Linked DNA regions of Homo sapiens: regions 1, 3, 4, 5, 6 and 7 are each linked to region 2. Evidence: promoter capture Hi-C in 16 types of primary human blood cells and fetal thymus (Javierre and others, 2016). All regions are on one chromosome and are shown on one strand. The core of a region is centred on a gene start or on the middle of the fragment in contact, and the rest is flanking DNA. Distances in the headings are between cores, read along the strand shown. Region 1 has its middle 37 kb from the start of TBX19. Region 2 holds the start of ATP1B1 (ATPase Na+/K+ transporting subunit beta 1). Region 3 overlaps SFT2D2 (SFT2 domain containing 2). Region 4 overlaps LOC125312414 (a long non-coding RNA gene). Region 5 has its middle 41 kb from the start of MIR557. Region 6 overlaps LOC125312414 (a long non-coding RNA gene). Region 7 overlaps LOC125312414 (a long non-coding RNA gene).

What was found. Contacts are between HindIII fragments. The CHiCAGO score rates a contact against its expected background, and 5 or more counts as called.
Region 1: a contact is called between a fragment that was not itself captured here and the fragment with the promoter of ATP1B1 in region 2, in 1 of 17 cell types (naive CD8 T cells). The highest score is 5.4, in naive CD8 T cells.
Region 3: a fragment that was not itself captured here is called in contact with the fragment with the promoter of ATP1B1 in region 2 in 1 of 17 cell types (total CD8 T cells); the score reaches 6.8 in total CD8 T cells.
Region 4: a fragment that was not itself captured here is called in contact with the fragment with the promoter of ATP1B1 in region 2 in 3 of 17 cell types (naive CD8 T cells, total CD8 T cells and naive CD4 T cells); the score reaches 8.1 in naive CD8 T cells.
Region 5: a fragment that was not itself captured here is called in contact with the fragment with the promoter of ATP1B1 in region 2 in 2 of 17 cell types (naive CD8 T cells and total CD8 T cells); the score reaches 6.9 in naive CD8 T cells.
Region 6: a contact is called between a fragment that was not itself captured here and the fragment with the promoter of ATP1B1 in region 2, in 1 of 17 cell types (naive CD8 T cells). The highest score is 8.3, in naive CD8 T cells.
Region 7: a fragment that was not itself captured here is called in contact with the fragment with the promoter of ATP1B1 in region 2 in 4 of 17 cell types (naive CD8 T cells, fetal thymus, naive CD4 T cells and 1 more); the score reaches 7.0 in naive CD8 T cells.

What each region holds. Positions count from the first base shown.
Region 1 is chr1:168,316,577-168,319,276 of GRCh38, reverse strand. No RefSeq gene overlaps it. Among named protein-coding and RNA genes, the nearest start is that of TBX19, 37 kb to the right of the region's middle. The HindIII fragment of the contact is 2,663 bases long and covers 6-2,668 here.
Region 2 is chr1:169,105,318-169,108,017 of GRCh38, reverse strand. ATP1B1 (ATPase Na+/K+ transporting subunit beta 1) reads right to left here and starts at 1,328. Exons shown (of 6, transcript NM_001677.4): 1 at 1,092-1,328. The coding sequence starts at 1,188. RefSeq lists enhancers at 619-1,191, 1,192-1,764, 1,553-1,847, 2,338-2,700 and a silencer at 1,361-2,280. The HindIII fragment of the contact is 9,537 bases long and covers 1-2,700 here.
Region 3 is chr1:168,235,619-168,238,318 of GRCh38, reverse strand. It overlaps SFT2D2 (SFT2 domain containing 2), which reads right to left. Exons shown (of 8, transcript NM_199344.3): 5 at 1,695-1,730; 6 at 1,549-1,607. Among named protein-coding and RNA genes, the nearest start is that of SFT2D2, 11 kb to the right of the region's middle. The HindIII fragment of the contact is 1,418 bases long and covers 630-2,047 here.
Region 4 is chr1:168,423,795-168,426,494 of GRCh38, reverse strand. The region is part of intron 4 of LOC125312414 (a long non-coding RNA gene); the gene reads left to right. Among named protein-coding and RNA genes, the nearest start is that of MIR557, 50 kb to the right of the region's middle. The HindIII fragment of the contact is 4,174 bases long and covers 1-2,700 here.
Region 5 is chr1:168,333,084-168,335,783 of GRCh38, reverse strand. No RefSeq gene overlaps it. Among named protein-coding and RNA genes, the nearest start is that of MIR557, 41 kb to the left of the region's middle. The HindIII fragment of the contact is 3,098 bases long and covers 1-2,700 here.
Region 6 is chr1:168,402,021-168,404,720 of GRCh38, reverse strand. LOC125312414 (a long non-coding RNA gene) reads left to right here. Exons shown (of 8, transcript NR_176090.1): 8 at 2,214-2,700. LOC100505918 (a long non-coding RNA gene) reads left to right here. Exons shown (of 5, transcript NR_176059.1): 5 at 2,378-2,700. Among named protein-coding and RNA genes, the nearest start is that of MIR557, 28 kb to the right of the region's middle. The HindIII fragment of the contact is 3,564 bases long and covers 1-2,700 here.
Region 7 is chr1:168,445,164-168,447,863 of GRCh38, reverse strand. All of the region lies in intron 4 of LOC125312414 (a long non-coding RNA gene), which reads left to right. Among named protein-coding and RNA genes, the nearest start is that of MIR557, 71 kb to the right of the region's middle. The HindIII fragment of the contact is 923 bases long and covers 887-1,809 here.

The sequences.
Region 1 (2,700 bases), core at 88-2,587, 790 kb after region 2:
AAGCTTTCTTTGTAGGGTGACAAAAATGTTCTAAAATTAGATTATGGTTATGGGCACACAACTCTGTAAATATACTAGAAAAGTCCAATGAATTTCCCCTTTAAATAGGCTGTGTAAATTATATATCAATAAAGCTATTAAAAATAATAATCTGTCTGGGCCCGGCGGTTCATGCCTGTAATCGCAGCAATTTGGGAGGCCGAGGCGCGTGGATCACCAGAGGTCAGGAGTTTGAGACCAGCCTGACCAACATGGTGAAACCCTATCTCTACAAAAATACAAAAAAATTAGCCAAGCATGACGGTGAGCGCCTGTAATCCCACCTACTCGGGAGGCTGAGGCAGGAGAATTGCTTGAACCCAGCAGGCAGAGGTTGCAGCGAGCCAAGATCGTGCCGCTGCACTCCAGCCTAGGCAACAGAGCAAGACTCTGTCTCAAACAAACAAATAACAACAAAAAAAAACTTTTCTAAAGAAATACGATCTTATAAAGACACAACTTTGACAAAAATATACAAAGAACTTTTTATCAAACCAAACATGTTTCCCCACCTAAAATTTCCAAGTACTGCTAAGGATTATTTCTAAAAATTCTGGATTAATACCTGTGGGGTGCCTACCATGTACCTACCAGGCACATGTGCAAGGTGTTGGAGGTACAGCAATGGAAGACAGTTTTTGTCCTCAAGTATAACCAAGACAGTCATCCACCCTGTAATAACACAATTAGCCATTTCTCTAATTTAAATTTCTAACTCTAGTAACCATCAACACCCACCTGCTCAAGTTAACAGAAATCCATGGAGTATCCTCAATCTCTCATGACTTCCTGTCATTACAACCCTGGACATTTTCCCCCAACATATCCCACTTAGCAACTTTAGCCCAGGCCCCAAGTGTTAACGCTTGAGGATCCACTCTTTTAACCCACACACCAGCCATTTTTCTCAAGGCATGGCAGTGTCCAGGTGGCTGCATAAGTCCACATTGGGTCCAGGAGCATCTCTTACCTCCAGTTGCTCTTGTGTGGAAACCAGTCATCCATTCAAACTACTCCTCCCATTGTGGTAATATAATTTTGTCTTAGAGGAAATATACTTTTCCTGCTGCCCAACCTTGGTCTGGGCTAACCCAAGCCATCCAATATATTTCACTACATTTTAACCACAAATAGAAAAGGTCTTTCCTTCTAAGAGATTACTACGTTCCCACCTAAAATATGTCTGATTCCTCCTCAGCAACCTCCAAGCTCCAAGCCCTCCCCATCTAATAAGTATGTAGGAGGGATACCACAGCTCCATCCTCCAGAACCAGCCCTGGTTAACCCAAAACTCCTTGTTAACACTCCTCCCCAAACTCCACCCCCTAAAAAGTGTTCTTTCAGAACAAAGTGAATCTACCCCAAAGGTTTATTGACTTATTCTCTAGGGACAGGGAACTCATCACTAAATAGACATACTTGTGCATACACACACACACACACACACACATAAACACACACAGTTACTCCTACAAAGTGCTCCAAATAAGAGTGGTCATGACCAGAAAATGTGAATTTCCGATGTTTCCATGTTGAGAATGAGAGATTGACCAACTTCTCACTCCCAACTAGTTGAATTCTAAGTCCTCACCTGGGCCTGACCAGTTGCTCTGGCCTCCGGGTTTCCCAGACGCCAGTTTTATTTCAGTAGCCTAGGTACTTTGGCAGGAAGGGGGCTGGAGAACTGAAACGATTGGCTGGAGATGAAATCACAGGGACACCTAAAACTGTCTTCGTGTGGCTGAGTCAGTTCCTGGAAGAGGGCCTCAGGACCAGGTGGCATCTCTTGTTTTGTCACAATGCTAAATCTGAAAGATATCTCAAAGACCAGTTCTTTAGGTTTCACAATAGTGATGTTAGCTATAGGAGTAGATGGGGGAGTTATAAATCATGTGACCCCCAGTTTTGTGATTCTGGGGCAGTAAACAACTTATAGAAAAACAAACTAAGCGATGGCAGGTCATGGTTTAACTATGCCTATTCTACAGCAAAGTCCAAGGCCCTACCACAATTTTAGCCTTGTCTTATGAACGCAGCTTCAGTCTACAAAAAAAAAAAGAAATTTAGCCTGTGAGGTTAGAAGCAAGATGGAGTCAGTCACGTTAGATTTCTCTCATTACTTATTCCAAAAAGGTAGTTTCACCAAGAGTTTGGGGGGGTTCTATTCCTAGAAGGTTGGGGGGTTGGACAGACTACCCCATAGATGTGTCTATAATGATGATGATGGAAAAGTTTTGGTGTCTTCAGACCACAGAGGCTGTTCCTTTATATCTTTTGTGGCACCACATATCCCTACCTTAACCTCTGTTCCAGGATGCCCGTACTCTCTCTGTTCACCAACCTGGCCAGTAGCCAACAAGTGGCTCAAGGATGCCCGTACTCTCTCTGTTCACCAACCTGGCCAGTAGCCAACAAGTGGCTCAATAAAGTGGGAATGGGTGGAGAAAATAAAAAGGAAGGAGTTGAAAGAAGGGCCACTTGAATGCCCCAGTTGCCATCCCCTACTTTGGCTGACCCACAATTTCCGTAAAACAGAATTCATATTCTTCACAAATGTGACATTTTAACTTGCTGATATTCACTCAAATCTATTCTAGTCTTGAAGAAAGTGGTGAAGACCTACCAAGCTTCGAATATCCTTTATTGAGTTTTTTTCTTAAT
Region 2 (2,700 bases), core at 79-2,578:
CTGCCGATTCCCACAGATCCTCCCAAGCAGGAACACCAATCGGCCTCTGTTCAGGACTCCCTGAATGACTGCAGTGGTGGTGCCAGTGGTGTTGGTGGTGATGGTCATGATGATGATGATGATGATGATGATGTTGGAGGAGGAGGGGGCAGTGATGCAGCAGGGGGAGTTCCCTCCCTCCTTCCCTCACGCAGTCACGACTCATAGATTCGCCTACAACTCTGCCCTTCAAAATGACCTTTTTTTTAAAAAAAAAAAAGTCACCTTTCCGGAGAGGCTGAAAACAAGAAATCTAATTTTCGATGGAAAAAAGTCTATCCAACCAAGCAACAGGCTGCACAAAATATTTTAAGATCAGCTGCTCTGCGTTTATATTCCCTTCACCATAATCAACCCAACCTACTGACTGATCCACAACTGTCTGTGTAGACCTTGAAAACAACCAGACTTTGCCAGGTTTCGGGCCAAAGCTAAGAATCGGAGTCCTGAAATGGAGCTTATTGAACCATTTCTGGGTGGTGATGACTCCAGGGGAGGTCATGGAGGGAAATCCTTAGCCATCGCTGTGAAATACTACAGTGTGGATGGATTCCTCTCCACCCTTCTCTTTCCTCTCTTTTGAGATACGTATTTAGACTAGAAGAAAGATGCTGTAACACACAACCTCGTCTGCATTAGATCCCATCACCTCACGAGGTTCTCTCAAGACCCCAGATCTCATTTTTTTTTTAAGGACTCAGGACACGGGAGAGACAAATGTAGTCTCGCAGAGCCTGACTATTCCCAGGAGTAAAAGGCTCAACCGATGCACGGTAGGAAAGACTGCAAATTACCAAGCCAAGATCGCTACGATATGCATAACCTTCCGCCTGTCGTGTTCCAGCCCCGACCCTGCGCCCCACTCTGGGGACACCGCATTCCGCACAGGACTGCAAGCCCAGGCCGGCGCGACCCAGCAGCGTCCACCACCCTCGCCCCCGCCACCCCGGCCAGCGCGGTGGGTGCGGAACCGGCCGCGGACCCTGCGCAGGGGATGCGCCGCCCGGGAAAGATCAGACGCGGCGGCCGGGAGCTGCGGACCCCGTACTTACACCAACTGCCACCGGTCCTGCCCAGAAACTCCTTCTTCTCTGAGTTCCAGATGAATTTCTTCCAGCTGCCCTCCTCCTTGGCTTTCCCGCGGGCCATGGCGATGGCGGGTCAGCAGCTGCCGCGGTCCGGAGGGTGGGTGGCTGCGGCGCGCGCCCTGGCGTCCTCTGCGCCGCTCGGCTTCTCCGGCCTGGCTCTCTGCAGGCAGGACGCGCCGCTGCCGCTGCGGCTCTCGGAGTGCGAGACGCGCGGCGGAGGAGCCAAGGCAGGAGCAGGAGGAGGGGGAGGCGGCGGCGGCGGCGGCGGCGGGGCGGGGGCGGAGGGAGGGACGGCGCAGGCTGCGCGGCTCCGAGCCCCGCACCTATTGGTGGGCGCGCAGCCGCTCGCGGGCTTTCTTTGGTCCGCCGAGCGCTCCTCTAGCCCTTGGGGGGTCGGGGGCTCCGCGAACCCGTAGCTGCCGCTCCCGCTGCCACTGGGGACGTGTGCTGGGCCCCCGCCTCCCCTGACCTCTGCAGAGACAGGCCCGGGGTAGGAGAGTCAGAGAGGGAAGGACGGACAAGCGGACTGCGGGGCGCCACCGGCACTCCCGCCAGGAGCCGAGGAATTGGCTGCGCCCGCCCTACCTTTACTATATACCGCGCCCCGGCGGCCGTGCGCCCCGCCCTCTAGCGGCCCGGTGGCCAATCGCCGGCGCCAGGGGCAGGGACTCGGCCCGAGAGGGCGGGTTCGGGGCCGGCACAAAGGAGCCGCCGGGGCTAGAGGGGCCGCTTGGATCGCTGGGCGCGGGGCGTTGGGCGCGGGGCGAGGAGGAGGCGGGGGCGGCGGTGAGGGACGCGCAGGCAGCGCCGCGCAGCCCCCTCCCAGCTCCCGGCTGGGCGTGAACCGCCCCTTCCGTGGCTGGGGGATCCGCACCTGGGTCGCCCGGAGCCTCGAGGACCCCAGCCCGGCAGTCCTGGCCCAGCCTCCACGCCTCTGCCTGCCCGCCCGCGCTTTCGGCCTCCCTGGGCTGTGGGTCCACCCCTCCTGGGCGCTGGCGGGGTGGGGGAAGGTCACTCCGGGACGCCGGACTGGCGAGGACTCTGCCCAGCTCCGCCCCGCCTCCCGCTCCTGCACCTGCCGCCCCCTCGCACTCCCCGCCACTGCGGTTGCAGTTCCGGCCCTTCCCTCTTCTTTGCAGGCCAGCCCAGCCGGCAGCCCCGGTTCCTGACTGCCCGGCTGTGCCCCTTGTGGGCGGCCTGAACCACCTCGAGCAGGACAATTGCCAAACCCACCCAGGGCGGTAGCCCGCAGTGAGTTGTCCCGTAGAAACCAATTGAGACTCAGGCCAGTCTAGACCCCAGGCAACAATATCTGCACGTGACCCAGCCACCGAGGACTTTCTTGGTGCCCGGTCGGCGGCGGGTATTCTCATTGGCATGCTTTTATGCCCCCTTGGGGGTATCGATCCCTTTGTTCTGCTGTAAAATTCTTGGAGCCAAAGGACCTTTGGGAAAACCTAGCGCATAGGGCAAGATGTTGCAGACCTGGGGCATAGAGTACCCCTTCCCACTCTTTGTCCGCTGTTGCTGGAAAGCCAAACTCTTGGTTTCATCCCTCTCCTATGAGCCCCCA
Region 3 (2,700 bases), core at 89-2,588, 870 kb after region 2:
TGGGATAAATTTTCTGCTCTGCTCCTATTAATTTTAAAAGAAGAGAAAAGAGAATAAAAAAGAAGAAGAAAAAAATGCTACCAACTACTCTATGAGTGAAAATGTAGTACGTCCAAAGGTATCTTGGTAAATTCCAGTTAGCTCAGCCCTGTCACTTAGAAGGAAACCATATACAAGGAACAGGCTCCATAATGCTAAAGAACCAGGCACTGTGTGTCAGGCAGACTGTAAGTTAGCCCTTAGAAAAGCAAACACAGTCAGAACACATGAGTGTTGAAGGGAATATCACCATTCAGCTGGACCCATATGAATGCTGAACCTCTGAAACTGGATTCAAAATCAGTCTATAAGCAAAGCAAGGTGTGTGTATATAGGTACCAATTTCTGCCCTGGAAGAAAAATCAAAATATAAACAGTCTACCACTCAAATGTGCATGTCATTTAAAAAAAAAAAAAACATACACACACACACACACATAAACACAAACACCAGCATCCTTCTCCATATCTTATACTTAACATGTACAGAAGCTCAATTACTTGTCAACACAGTAAATTCCAAAAGGCAATTTGTAACTATATTTATTCAAAAGTCCAAAATTGCTAAAGGGAGGGATGGGAGTTAAGCTTACAGTCTCAAGATTCATTTCTACCAAATAGGAGTTAACCAATTCTTCAGAACTTTAAAATGTCCACAATCCTCCTTTCTTTACACTGTAGCAAACATTTTTTTCAAAAATAGGTGAGTCACATCTATACTGAAACTGTTCTGGCAGATACCATCCCTTGATAAACTTTGAAAGAACTACAGAAATGTCTTGGAACCTACAGATTCCAACTATGCCACCACCCCTCTCACTCTGAGGTCGTATAGGCTTGAAAGGACCATGAACCTACAGCCCCACTCATGGTTTCCCAAAATGTCTCCAGCGGCCCTTTTACTATACTTGGCTCTGGAGTTACAATTTCCTACTCTTCAGCTGAATTACCAAAAGCCAACAAGCCTCTGAGCACATACGCTGATCCTACAGCCCACAGACACACGTTTTTCCATTTCGTCAGTGACTGTTCCTCATCTCCTGCTGACAGTTCACTCTTTGTCCTTCTGTTAAATGATTCATTCTATCACAAATGTAACATTCATTATTTTTCTTACCACTTTCCTTTTTTGTTAACCTCTATTGGACTCACAAGCCTTTTTAACATCCCTTATAATACTTTTGTTGTCCTTGCACTTACCGGACATGAGTGGCTTAATAATATTTGTAACATCTCAAAAATCAACCATTAGTTCAGCAAAAATGCCACAGCAGGCAAACAAGGAGCCTCCTGTGACCACTCAAGACCACTAATGCCATCTATTGGCAGTGGGCTGGGTTGATAGGCATTTGCTCTGGAGCCTGACTTCACTTTCATCATTACGAATCCTTAAATTAAACAGCTTCTGTGTTTTCTTAATTCTCCCACCCACAATATGTGAGTTTTATCTCCTTTGGCTACATTATTCAGTGGGCTATGTGGGAGGGGATTGTTTAAAAGGTTACTTACCACGTCAATGCCAAAGACTGCAAAATGCAGAAGATAAGTGCAAGTCCCTTGTTATGCCACTGGAAAAATAATAATATGGTTATAGGAGAGTGTGAGACAAGGGGCAAAAGCCAAAATGGTTAAGAAAAATTAAAATATACATTTACCCAAAAGGCAGAACACAGGGTAAGTGCAAAACACAACTAAAGGAAGAAAGGAAACATTAATTAATGACAATAACATGGCAGGAAAAAAAAAACTCAAAACTTGTTATTCTTCACAAATGCACAAAACTTATGCATCCTTCATCTCAAAGCAGTTAACCCACCTGAGCACCCATATTTGGCAGAATAGTTAAAAATCTCCATGAAATCAAACTAGCCAATAAAGATTCACATAGATAAGATGTTCTTTTACTTTCAAGTTTTCCCAGAACCTCTGCCCAGCAAACAAATCACATTTCAGGCCCACCCATTCATCCGTCCATCCATCTTTTCATTCAAATGCACTAAAGTAAGCTTAACACAAATCTTTCTATTTTAACTCCTACCAAATGCTAGTCTCTGCAGCAGAAAGCACATGTGAGGACAAAGGTTAACCTGAGATATCAATCTCACAGTCAGCATGCCAGTTACTTGTGTACCTATCACCTAACACTTTCCCTAAGGCCATTCTTAGAAAGCTCTTTCTGCAAGAGACTTGTCCAGGCCGTGGGCATCTGAGGCTGGCCAAGGACAACTGGTGCTAGAGCAGTCAGCCATGCCTTTCTTCGCCATCCTTCTATAACAATAACTACTCAAATATGTCCTAAATATTCTCTGTGTCCAGCATTGTGCCCAATACTCTAAAAGGACACAAAATAAACAGGAAATGTGGTCACAGCTTTTGATAACTCACCTATTTGAACAAATGAGATTATATAAATGAAACTAAAAATAAAAGTATGTTCTTCAAGTTCCAAATGTTGCAATAGCTATAAAAGTCCAGAGAATGTAGGTCTGGAATGATTTTGACAACCACAGGGAAGAAAATAGGCCAAAAATGAGAGGCATTTAGGGTCAATGGAACAGGAAGATACAACAAAGCTAAAGACAATGTTGTCAGAGCAGGGTACAAGGATGACAGGCCATAAGGAGGCCACTCCCACTTTGGGGAGACTGATGAAAAACAGTA
Region 4 (2,700 bases), core at 85-2,584, 680 kb after region 2:
AGGTCACCTAGGCCAACCTCTAACCTAAGGCCAAATGCAAATTGTCCCCTTTGATATTTGGAAGATGACCATCTGAGCTCCCCCATTATGCAAGACAAAATTATCAGTACCCTCCCAAATACATCTAAGGATGCCCAGAAGTGCTTATGTTGTCCAAGATGTCTCTTATGCCTCTTCCAGATACCCCCTCTCTGTCCTTTATCCCTGGCCAACTCATAACAGCTTCTCCTGGCTGCCCAAGCTGCTCATCCTGTTCTCTGTAAAGCCAAGCCTGGACACTGGCATCCCCCTTCACTTCCTAAGACATTGCTAACTAAGGACTCTAGCATGTGACAAACTCTACCAGGGCCGAAAGACAGCACATGGGCAGAGGTTCTTCCTGATCATCTTTCTTCTTAGCATTAGCCTGCTACCTTGTGCTCAGAACCTGCCCTGCTCTCCTGAATGGGATGTTCCTTCCAACATCCCCTCTCCTGGGGCCCAGGCTCCTACCTTTAGTCTCTGGGTTTGTCAGCAGAAGCCAAAATCAGTCACCATTTATATCAGCTCAAATTAGGTTTACCTGTGAGTGACTGAAAACCCAAAATAACAGTAGCTTAACGAAGACCGTAGTTATTACTTCCTCCCATAAAAGTCTGGGTGCTTACCAGGCTGGTCCATGGTGTCAGGGACAAAGACTCCTTCTCTTTTGTTGACCAGTCCTGCAGAGCCCTTGTTAATGACTGGAAGGGGCTTCAACCATCCCAGCCACATCCAAGAATTGAAATGGGGGTAGGGGGAGAAGGAAGAGAGAGCATGCAGAAACTGTCCCATTGCATCCTGTTAGCCAAAACTTGATACCTAGAGACCCCTTGCTGCAAGGAGGCTGGAAAAAAATGTAGTCTTTATCCTGAGTAACCACGTACCTAGCTAGTATTTCCATAACAAAAGAAGAGGAAGAGAGGAAATATTAGGGGTAGGGGAGAAACATTAACTGTCTCTGCTGAGTAAATACGTCTGTTGATTCCAATTCATTGTTGACTTCACCCTTTCCTTTCTATGTCCTTCCCTCATAGCTGCCATCTTTTTTTTTCAGTCCCATTGTTCCTATTCTCATTCTTGTTCATGGATTCTCACCTAGGATTTTGCCACAGCCCCCCAACAGGCCTCTCTGCCCCGCAACTCACTCCTCTGCTTCTCCCCTTGGTGACCTTGCTAAGCAGAGCTGTTACCTCGGACCTCTCCAGGCCAAACTCCTTCAATAACTCTCCACTACCTGCAAAATGAAGATCAACTGCATGGCCAGACATTCCCTACTCCAAACTGGCTGTAGGGTTAGGCTTTATTTTGCAAGTGGTGGGAATTCATCAAAGGTGTGTGGACTAGAGAGGTACAAAGTAACAGCTCTGCTCAGCAAATATAACCAAACAGACCTTGTGTTTGACTTTGGCTTCCCCACTTCACCCTCCATCTTTGCCTCTCAAACTCCCACCCATGTTTCAAGATCCAACTTGACTGTCATCTGCTCTATGAGCATTTTCCAGTTCCAGCCTTTGTCCTAGCTCTGCCAGTGTCACCCTTAAATACACACACACACACACACACACACACACAAACACACTCCATCACCTCCCTCACCTTCTCTGCTTCTGTGTTACTGTTTCATTTCATTTTGTTTCCTCTGTATTGCAGAGATGATGACTTTGTGTCTGTGAATCCATCTATCCCCAGCACTCTGGTAATGTGGACCATGCCTTGTTCATCTGTCTCCCACCCAGGGACTTGGACAAAGTGCTCAGTTGACATTCATTAAACTGATCATCGGTACCAAGAAATTACAAATAGATGCGTAAAAATCTGGAAACAGTCTTTCTCAGCAACCATTCCAGAATTACAAACTTTCTCTAGCATGACCGTAGGATCTAAATGCAGTTCCAGTGGAATTAAATGTATGGGTTGTTTTGTGTCTATAGCATGACTCCTTCCTGTCTGAGAACTTTCTGGAACCCAAATTGCTAGTGCAGCTGGAATCAGGGTGTCTGACAAGAGGCAGCTGTCACTTCACATTTTGCAAAATATTTCCACAAAAATTGCCCCAAAATGCAAAAATCTTTCATTAGGAAGAGCTGATTCATGGAATTTATAATAGGAATCCTGTATGGCTGCATAATTCAGTAGAGGAAAATAGAAAAGAATAAACAAGTATTGGTCTCTCCAGGCCATTCCTTTTGAAGCCAAGTCAGGGCACAGAGCACTATGGACACTGCATGACCAGCCTGGTTGAAGGCAATGTTGGAGATAAACTTTCCCACACAGAAACCCTTCTCAGCCCTGAGTCTCTGTAAAAATGCACAGCTCTTGCATGTACATAGAGACTTCTCTTCCCCAGGCAGAGGAGTCAACGTGAAAGCCAAAGCCAAAGCACACTAGCCCTTCAGAGATCAAAAACCCTGTGACACTCTCAGAATACCTGTGTCCTGACAGATATTCAGCAAAATATTTTGTGACAGTGTCACCATAACCTCTTTGGAACACAGGGCTGTAGGTCCCATCCTTCCTGCCTTTCTATGTACATCTCATGTGGAATCTTTCTCTCTCTAGTACATTCAACCTCCTTCTAACAACTGGTTTCTTCCAGTTAATTTTTTTTAATAGAGATGAGGTCTTGCTATGTTGCCCAGACTGGTCTCAAACTCCTGGCCTCAAGCGATCCTCCCGCCT
Region 5 (2,700 bases), core at 198-2,697, 770 kb after region 2:
TTCTTATATCCATTCAGTTTAGTCCTACACCTTTCTCCTGTCCTACTGTGGAATAATGAGTCATTCAATTTTAAGACAAAAATTACTTTCTTTTTCCCTTAGCAACAAAACAACAACAAAAATCCTCATGCCTAATAGTTTTACTTACCAAAAACATGTCTTACACACCTCATATACGAGTTGTTTCTCTTATTATTTCTAGTTTTAATTATCACATGTCAGCCAGAATTCTTAACTCTCATTAACTTTAATTTTTAGAAGCATGTACTTTCTCATAGTACAATTTTTCAATGTGGCACAAGACATGTTTGCTAACAGACCAAATATCTTTAATTTTTCTGTAATAAGAAGCCAAAATTAGATCAGTTTAAAGAAATTAATGTTTCAGTATTTTATCTTATTTGGAAATGATCTAAATATTTAAATGAATATTCATCATTTAATTTCATTTAGTGAAATTCCAAGGGTGTAAGTTACCAAAGAGATTTGGGAAACTATTTTTAAATAGACACATTATAATACAAAACAAAGCTAGCCATCATCAAGTTATTCTCTGTTAGCTATTTTGACGGCATGTGCAGGTCAGACAGTCTTCATGAAAGCAAGAATCCTAAATGTTAAATACGTGATTTTTGTTGCTATTTTTCTGCTACATATGATATACATGAAGTAATGGACACTGTACTTCCACTTGTACATTTATTCTTAGGTTGACCTCATAGATCTATAATCTGAAACATGCAGTAAAGATAACATAAACTTATTTGACTGGTAAACCCAAGTAAAATTAAAATGTTATGCTGATATTGTCCTCAAAACTGGTAACTCAAAAGACACAACTACTTTTATTAAACCAAAAATACTGAACTAGTCTTGTTTTGTTTTCCAAAGATGTACCTAAGTCATGTGAACTTGAAAAGCATTTGGGTTAGTTTCTATACTTCCAAGAGTTTAAGGAATACTTAATTTATATAAGCACTCATTTTTCTCTAAGCCAATTAGAGCTCTTTTATAATTTTGTCAATACCATCCAGAGGCAGAAAAAGGTTACATATATATAACATAAATAGACTTACTTAAACATAGACATATGCAGAGATCCTATAGCTTTCATTTTAGTTTTAGTCACATACCAGGTACAATATATAAAACTCATCAGTTTGTAAAAGAATATCTGATTCAGAATTGTATTTCTGACCAATGGAATGAGATTATCTGCCCAGATGGCTAGAACATTTTTCCAATATTTGTAGAAAAGACTTGAAAGATTTTGTGTTTGCTAGTTTCCACATAGCTCCTTTTTTGTTTTCCTCCAATGAATCATTTCCCTTAAATTTGCATTTCCAAAGTGCTCTAAGATATGACAAGGTAGAAAATTTACATTTCAAAGACATGGAGCTTAGACTTTATGATTAAATACCATCATTTGCAGAAACAAAAAAGCATATAGGTGAAGGACCAGTTAAGACAAGAAGACCGGGAAAGCCGCCTTAAAGAAAAGTGAGTCTTGTTAAGTAGCCTTAAGCCAGTTCCTTTTCCATTGTAACAGTTTTTAGTGATGCCGTCTTTCTTCTCTTTCTGATGCAGAGAGGCCTTACAAATGAAGGTTTCCTTTATGGAAGTACATTTTTCTTACAAAACAGTCCCAAAATAATCAGCTGAAAGTAGTACTTACGCTGAAAAGGCATATTTTGAGACTAATTTAGCTGAATAGGCAGCTTCCTAGCCCAGCCTGTGTTTTTCAAACTATATTACTGAGTTTAGAGCAGAACCCATAATGAATAGGGCAGACAAGGCATTTTCTATGCCTGGACTCAGCATGAGACCAGAATGTTTTACAAATAGTACTTCTAATCTTGCCTTATAGTCAGAGACCGGTTTATTCTTTTTTGTTTGTTTGTTTACAAGATGGAATGACAGAGCAGTGGACTTTTTTTGAGGGAATATTTCAAGAATGGATTCTAGGAGATTATTTGCTATTTTCATAGCCTTTTATTGGTCCACTCCTGAAATATTGAGTGGTCGAATCTGCCAAGGCGTTTGAGCGGGAGCAACTCCATCTTGAATAGGAGCTGGGTAAAATGGGGCTGAAACCTACTAGGCTGCATTCCCAGATGATTAAAGCATTGTAAATCATAGGATGAGATAGGAGGTTGGCATAAAATACAGGTCATAAAGACCTTGCTGATAAAACAGTTTGCAGTAAAGAAGCCAGCTCTAACCCACCAAAACCAAGATGGCAACAAGAGTGACCTCTGGTCTCCCTCACTGCTACACTCCCACCAGAACCACTGACAGTTTACAAATACCATGGCAACATCAGGAAGTTACCCTATATGGTCTAAAAAGGGAGGCATGAATAATCCACCCCTTGTTTAACATATCATCAAGAATTAACCATAAAAATGGCCAACCAGCAGCTCTATGGGTGGCTCTGTCTAAGGAGTAACCATTCTTTTATTCCTTTACTTTCCTAATAAACTTGCTTTCACTTTATTGTACGGACTCACCCTGAATTCTTTCTTGCACGAGATCCAAGAACCCTCTCTTGGGGTCTGGATTGGGACCCTTTTCCTGTAACACATATTTGATATCTTTCTCAAGTACCTGCCATTTGGCTCCAGTTATTAATTTATGGGCTTTGCCAGGTGCAAGTATCATGTGACTAAATTGGTAAAGATCAAGGGTCTTAGATTATAT
Region 6 (2,700 bases), core at 130-2,629, 700 kb after region 2:
ACATAAAGTTAAGGCTGGAGATGACACAACAAAATACTATCATCTACCCTATTTGTCCCAGTTCACCTGTCTCCCATTACCTCACAGCAACACCTTTACCACATCCTTAAATCCCCAACCAAAACTCCATCCTTAAAAGCCAATCCACTTTCTAGGAGATCTTGTATCCTACATGACAACAAAAACGGAGATCATCAGATGGTAATGCCTTCACGTCCTGGTCTCCCCACTACAAATCTATCTTCTCTAGGTGAACCCTTGCTCCCTCCTTTATGTCATAGAGGAAGTTTCTTTTTCCCTATCTGAGAAAGGAGATAGGGAAGCTGTGCTCTAAATCCATCTACTCTCTCCTCTTCACTTTGTCACTATCTCAGGATTGTGTATTTAAAAGTGCTCAAGGCTTTCCCCTCTTTAACAAGAAAAGCCTCTCTTACTATAAATTCTTTGTATACTTTTAATATAAGTCACCTCTATCTACCACCAGACCTCTGTGCTTTCTTTCATCATCCAACACCCACTTCTCTTCTCCTTCCATGCTCCCTCCCTGGGTTGTTTGCTTCCACTGCACATATGTTCACTTACAGCTATGGTCTGATGTGTATGTGCCCCCAAACACATGTGTTGAAAGTGAGTCACTAATGTGATGTATTTGGAGATAGAGCCTTTAGGGGGTGATTAGGTCATGAGGATGGAACCCCCCATGAATGGGATTAGTGCCCCTATAAAAGAGGCCCCAGAAAGCTGCTTTGCCTCTTCTACCACATGAGGATACAGCTAGCAGGAGCCATCTGTGAACCAGAAAGTGGGCCCTCACCAGACACCAAATCTGCTGACACTTTGATCTTGGATTTCCAGCCACCAGAACTGTGAGAAATAAATTTCCATTGTTTATAAACTACCCAGTTTGTGGTATCTTGTTAAGCCACTCAAACAGACTAAGACATTTACACATAAATGACTCTGCCCTGGGCTTCAGACTCAAACATCCCACCACTTACTGATCATCTCCATTTGCATTTCTCTGAGATACTTTAAACTCAAAATGTCCTACTGGACATCATTTTTTCACCACTCTCTAAATCTGGATCTCCTTCTATTCCCTTTTTCAGTAAATGGTCCCCAGATTTCTCCAGTCATATAAAGCAGAAACTGAGGTTCTTTCTTGATACCTATTTCTCCTTCAACCCTATATCTGATCCGTCTCCCTATCCTATTGTCTGACCATCTAGACATCCCTCAATTCTGTCTCTGTTTATCTCCTTTGCCACCACACACTAACTGCCGACTGATCTGCCTGTATGTAGCTTGCCCCATCCAATCTATTCTCTACAGTAGACAGCAAGGTCTTTATAAAAATGCAAATCTGAATCTGTCACTCCCTTGCTAAAAATGCTTCAGTGACTTCCCAGTGATCCTAGGGAGAAGCACCCAAAATCCTTAAAATAGTATAGTAACAGAAATCCTACTTTGAAACATGGACACACCCCACACACTTTTCTCTTCTGCCAACCCAAAAAAGTAAATGTATCCCCTAGATGGCCAGAGCCATCCATCTGCTCTGGGAAAGATGAAAACTGTAAAGGAAAAATGCAAAGAAGCTGGGAGGAAGAGTTCATATTCTGATTTTTTACTTTAAAATGGAATTTTGCAGCAAGCCAGTAGTCATGCAAGAAAAGATTTCCTGAATTCCTTTATCCTCTCTTTTAGCTTAATCCAGAATCAAGTCTGGCTGCCGAAATCATGGGTTCCCCACAGAACACAGAAGGTTCCCCTTGCTGTTCTGTGGTAGAAAACAAAACATCTAGTCCATACTTCTCATCCTGCACACATCCCCTTATACAGTGAGTTCCTAGCTGAGAGCCCACAGCCTACCAGTGAAACAGGAATTAAAAGAAATTAAAGAATGTGTAAGCAAAAACTCATTATATCATTGTATATAAGAAAACCCAATTCCCCTTGAGGAAGAGGAAGAGCTGAAGTCCTTTAAAAATTAACTGCCTGTTTTTCTGTGGCTAGTGAGTCTTATCTCTCCACCTTTCCCAGGCATTGTGAAGACCCTGTTTCTCTAGCTGTGCAGCTGCAAGGTCACTAGGCAGATAAACTCAAGTCATAAAACGTGTTTTTCCTTGGAAAGTAAGAAATAATGTAATGCATGTCTCAATTGAATAACTGTCTTTGTTTCTCTCTTCTGTAATATACTTCCCCCTGCACAGATCTCCCCGGCCCACAAAATACTTAAAAAGTAACCGGACTCTTTGTTCAGGGCTCAATCTTTTTGGATGTTAATCTGACTGGGCCGGTGCACCTAAATAATAAATAATATATATCCTCCTCGACCTTTGGTCTCTCTGATTCCTAAATTATCCTGCTGCACCAGGACTTATAGGAGCAGAAATCAGAAGACTTTACTCCACACACTTCAGGTGGACATGTGGACAAAGCCATCGGAGAACATGACAAAAATACAGCAAGAGCAGAGACAAGATCAGATCATCCTGGGGGCAGATGCTGGGCTCTGACCAATTTGAGAGAGAAAAGGAAAAAGAACCCAGCTACAAGATGCACAAGTAGCAGGCCACAGCCACCAACATCAGCAGAGCAATTGGAGGCCAGGAAGACAAGGACACTTCTGAAGAGACTGAAAAAAGCAGAAGACAGTCCAAGTCACTGCAAGGTTCCAAGGTCTCTTTTTTCATTACT
Region 7 (2,700 bases), core at 99-2,598, 660 kb after region 2:
TGCTGGATGTGGAGATAGGGGAAGGGGCCACAAGTCAAGGACTGCAGATGGCCTTTGAAAACTGGAAAAGGCAAAGAAGCAGATTCTCTCTCCTAAGCCTCCAGAAAGAAATGCAGCCCTACCAAGTCCTTCATTTTAGCCCAATGAGATCCATATCAGACTTCTAGCCTACACAACTATAAGATAATACATTTGTATTGTTTTCAGCCACTAAGTGTGTGGTAAATTGTTACGGCAGCCATAGGACGTCGATAATAATGATGGTGAAGAAACCACCAATTCAAAGCACATTTTGGAGGTTAAATTCACCTCCTAAAGGATTTAGAGATCCAGTAGATAACTAGTGCCTTGCCAGTTGGAACGTGGTTCCAGGATGATATGAAAGGAGATGAAGTGAACTCAAAAGACTCCATTTTCTTCTCTGAATCTAAAGTCACTTAACCGATATACTATGTTTTGATTCCTCCAAACCATAGCCTCATCCATTTGTTCCATACTTTTCTGCTTTTTTTTATTTGACTTCCCTCATTCAGCCTTTCTATTTGTATCAACAGCTTCACCAGAAATTCTCTGCATTTTTTCTCTCCATTTTCTCAACCCATAATTACCAGATTCAGACCTTTAGTGGACTGAAAAAGTATCAAATGATCTTTGTCTCCTTCTACCTCCTTCTGGTACATTTTCCAGTTTTCTCTTCATATGTTCTCTCAAGAAATAACTCCAATACACTCTTTGATGAGATTTTGCCTTATAAGACACAGACATCCCCCCAGGGAGCTTCCACTACTGGGGAGCCCAGGCCATCAACACTAACAATAAAGTGTGACATGGTGGAAATACCCAACCTAGTGTAAGGAGAGGAGGCCTTCAGGGAAAGCCATAAGCTTCTGCATGGGTGTCTTTAGAAAGCAATTTCCCATCATACTTCTCTTAGCTTTTGATTTTGCAAGCAGGGAAATGTCTGCCTAAAAGCTAAGAACTGGGCTCAGGCAGGCTTGACAGAAAAAGTGCTTGCACTTGCACAATATCAGAATCACAGCCACCTAAGGTGACCCAAGCCCTACCTTTTACTTGTCACATCAAAGGAGAAAACATAAAGAGAGGAGATATCCTGATTTTCTGATATTTAAATTTGCTTTACAGAGGAAATAAAATAGTTCATTTAATGGGAATAAACATTCAACTTAAAGTCACAAATATATTCTGGGGGAAAAAAGTTACCATCTGTTCCCTCTACTTGAATATAAGTTTGTTTTCTATATACAGAATGACTGCATCTATCCAAAAAGTATATGTTGAGCTGAGTGCAGCAACAAAGACATCAGTGACATAGTCCCTGACTTCTAGGACTTAAAATCTGCTTGAAAAAAAACAAAACATACAACCTTGAAGCACTATAATAATAATAGTCACAATACTTTTTTTAGCTCTTTTTACATATGATTTTATCTACCGTTAAATTATAAAAGCAGCGCAGAAAAAGTCTGCTGAATTTCAGAGAAAGGAGCTAGAAGGGGTTCATAGTTCTGGAAGGCTGGAGGGAGGATGCAGTATCTCAGTTGGCCCTGGAAGATGGCCTGGAGAAGCACCAGAAAATCTGAAACATACAAAACCAGAGAAGTAGAATATTCATGAGAAGGCTAAGGGAACCGTAAATAGATCAGTTTGGCCAAAACGAAGGTTACAAGGGGAGATGTTGCCAGATCATGGAAGACTTCCACTCTTTTCAAAAGGGGTATTTGCTGGGAGCATCAGAAACCACACACGACCATGGTGCAGTTTTCTTACATGTCCATTTTCTCTGAAGCTTTGGAAAGGAAAGTTCGGTCTGTAAACTTGTTTTACATATTATTTTCATAGAAATGCAAACATTGGTACATTTTTAAGTAAAAAATAGAAATTTGCATGAATGTTTAAGATAAAAACATTTCAAAGAATGTTGTCCCTTGCAGCAGGACCTCAAACCCTGAACGTTCACCTTCCCAGACTCTTTCTGCTCTGTCATCCCCAACCCCAGACAACTGATAAGCTCAGTCTGGTGCAACTCCTCTCATTTCCCAGTTTGACTCCTCTCCCGCCGGCTGACACTGTGCCAGCTCAGGTTCTTATCAGCTATCACTCAGGTTATTGCAGTTGAATCCTACCTGGACCTGCTGCCTCCCCATCATTCCTTTCCCCTCTCCTTCTACACTATGCCCAGGGTTGTCTTTCTTTCTTCTTTTTTTTTTTTTTGTTTTTTTGTTTGTTTGTTTGTTTGTTTGGAGATGGAGTCTCGCTCTGTCGCCCAGGCTGGAGTGCAGTGGTGCGATCTCGGCTCACTGCAACCTCTGCCTACCGATGTGAGCCATGTGAGCCACCACGCCTGGCCTCCTTCTGGTATTTTCTTTTTTTTGAGACGGAGTCTCACTCTGTCACCCCAGCTGGAGTGCAATGGCACTATCTAGGCTCATTGCAACCTCCACCTCCTGGGTTCAAGTGATTCTCCTGCCTCAGCCTCCTAAGTAGCTGGGACTACAGGCGCATGCCACCACGCCTAGCTAATTTTTCTATTTTTAGTAGAGACGGGGTTTCACCATGTTGGCCAGGATGGTCTAGTTCTCTTGACCTCCTGATCCGCCTGCCTCAGCCTCTCAAAGTGCTGGGATTACAGGCGTGAGCCACCCCACCAGGGTCATCTTTCTAGAAGGAAAATGGAATCAT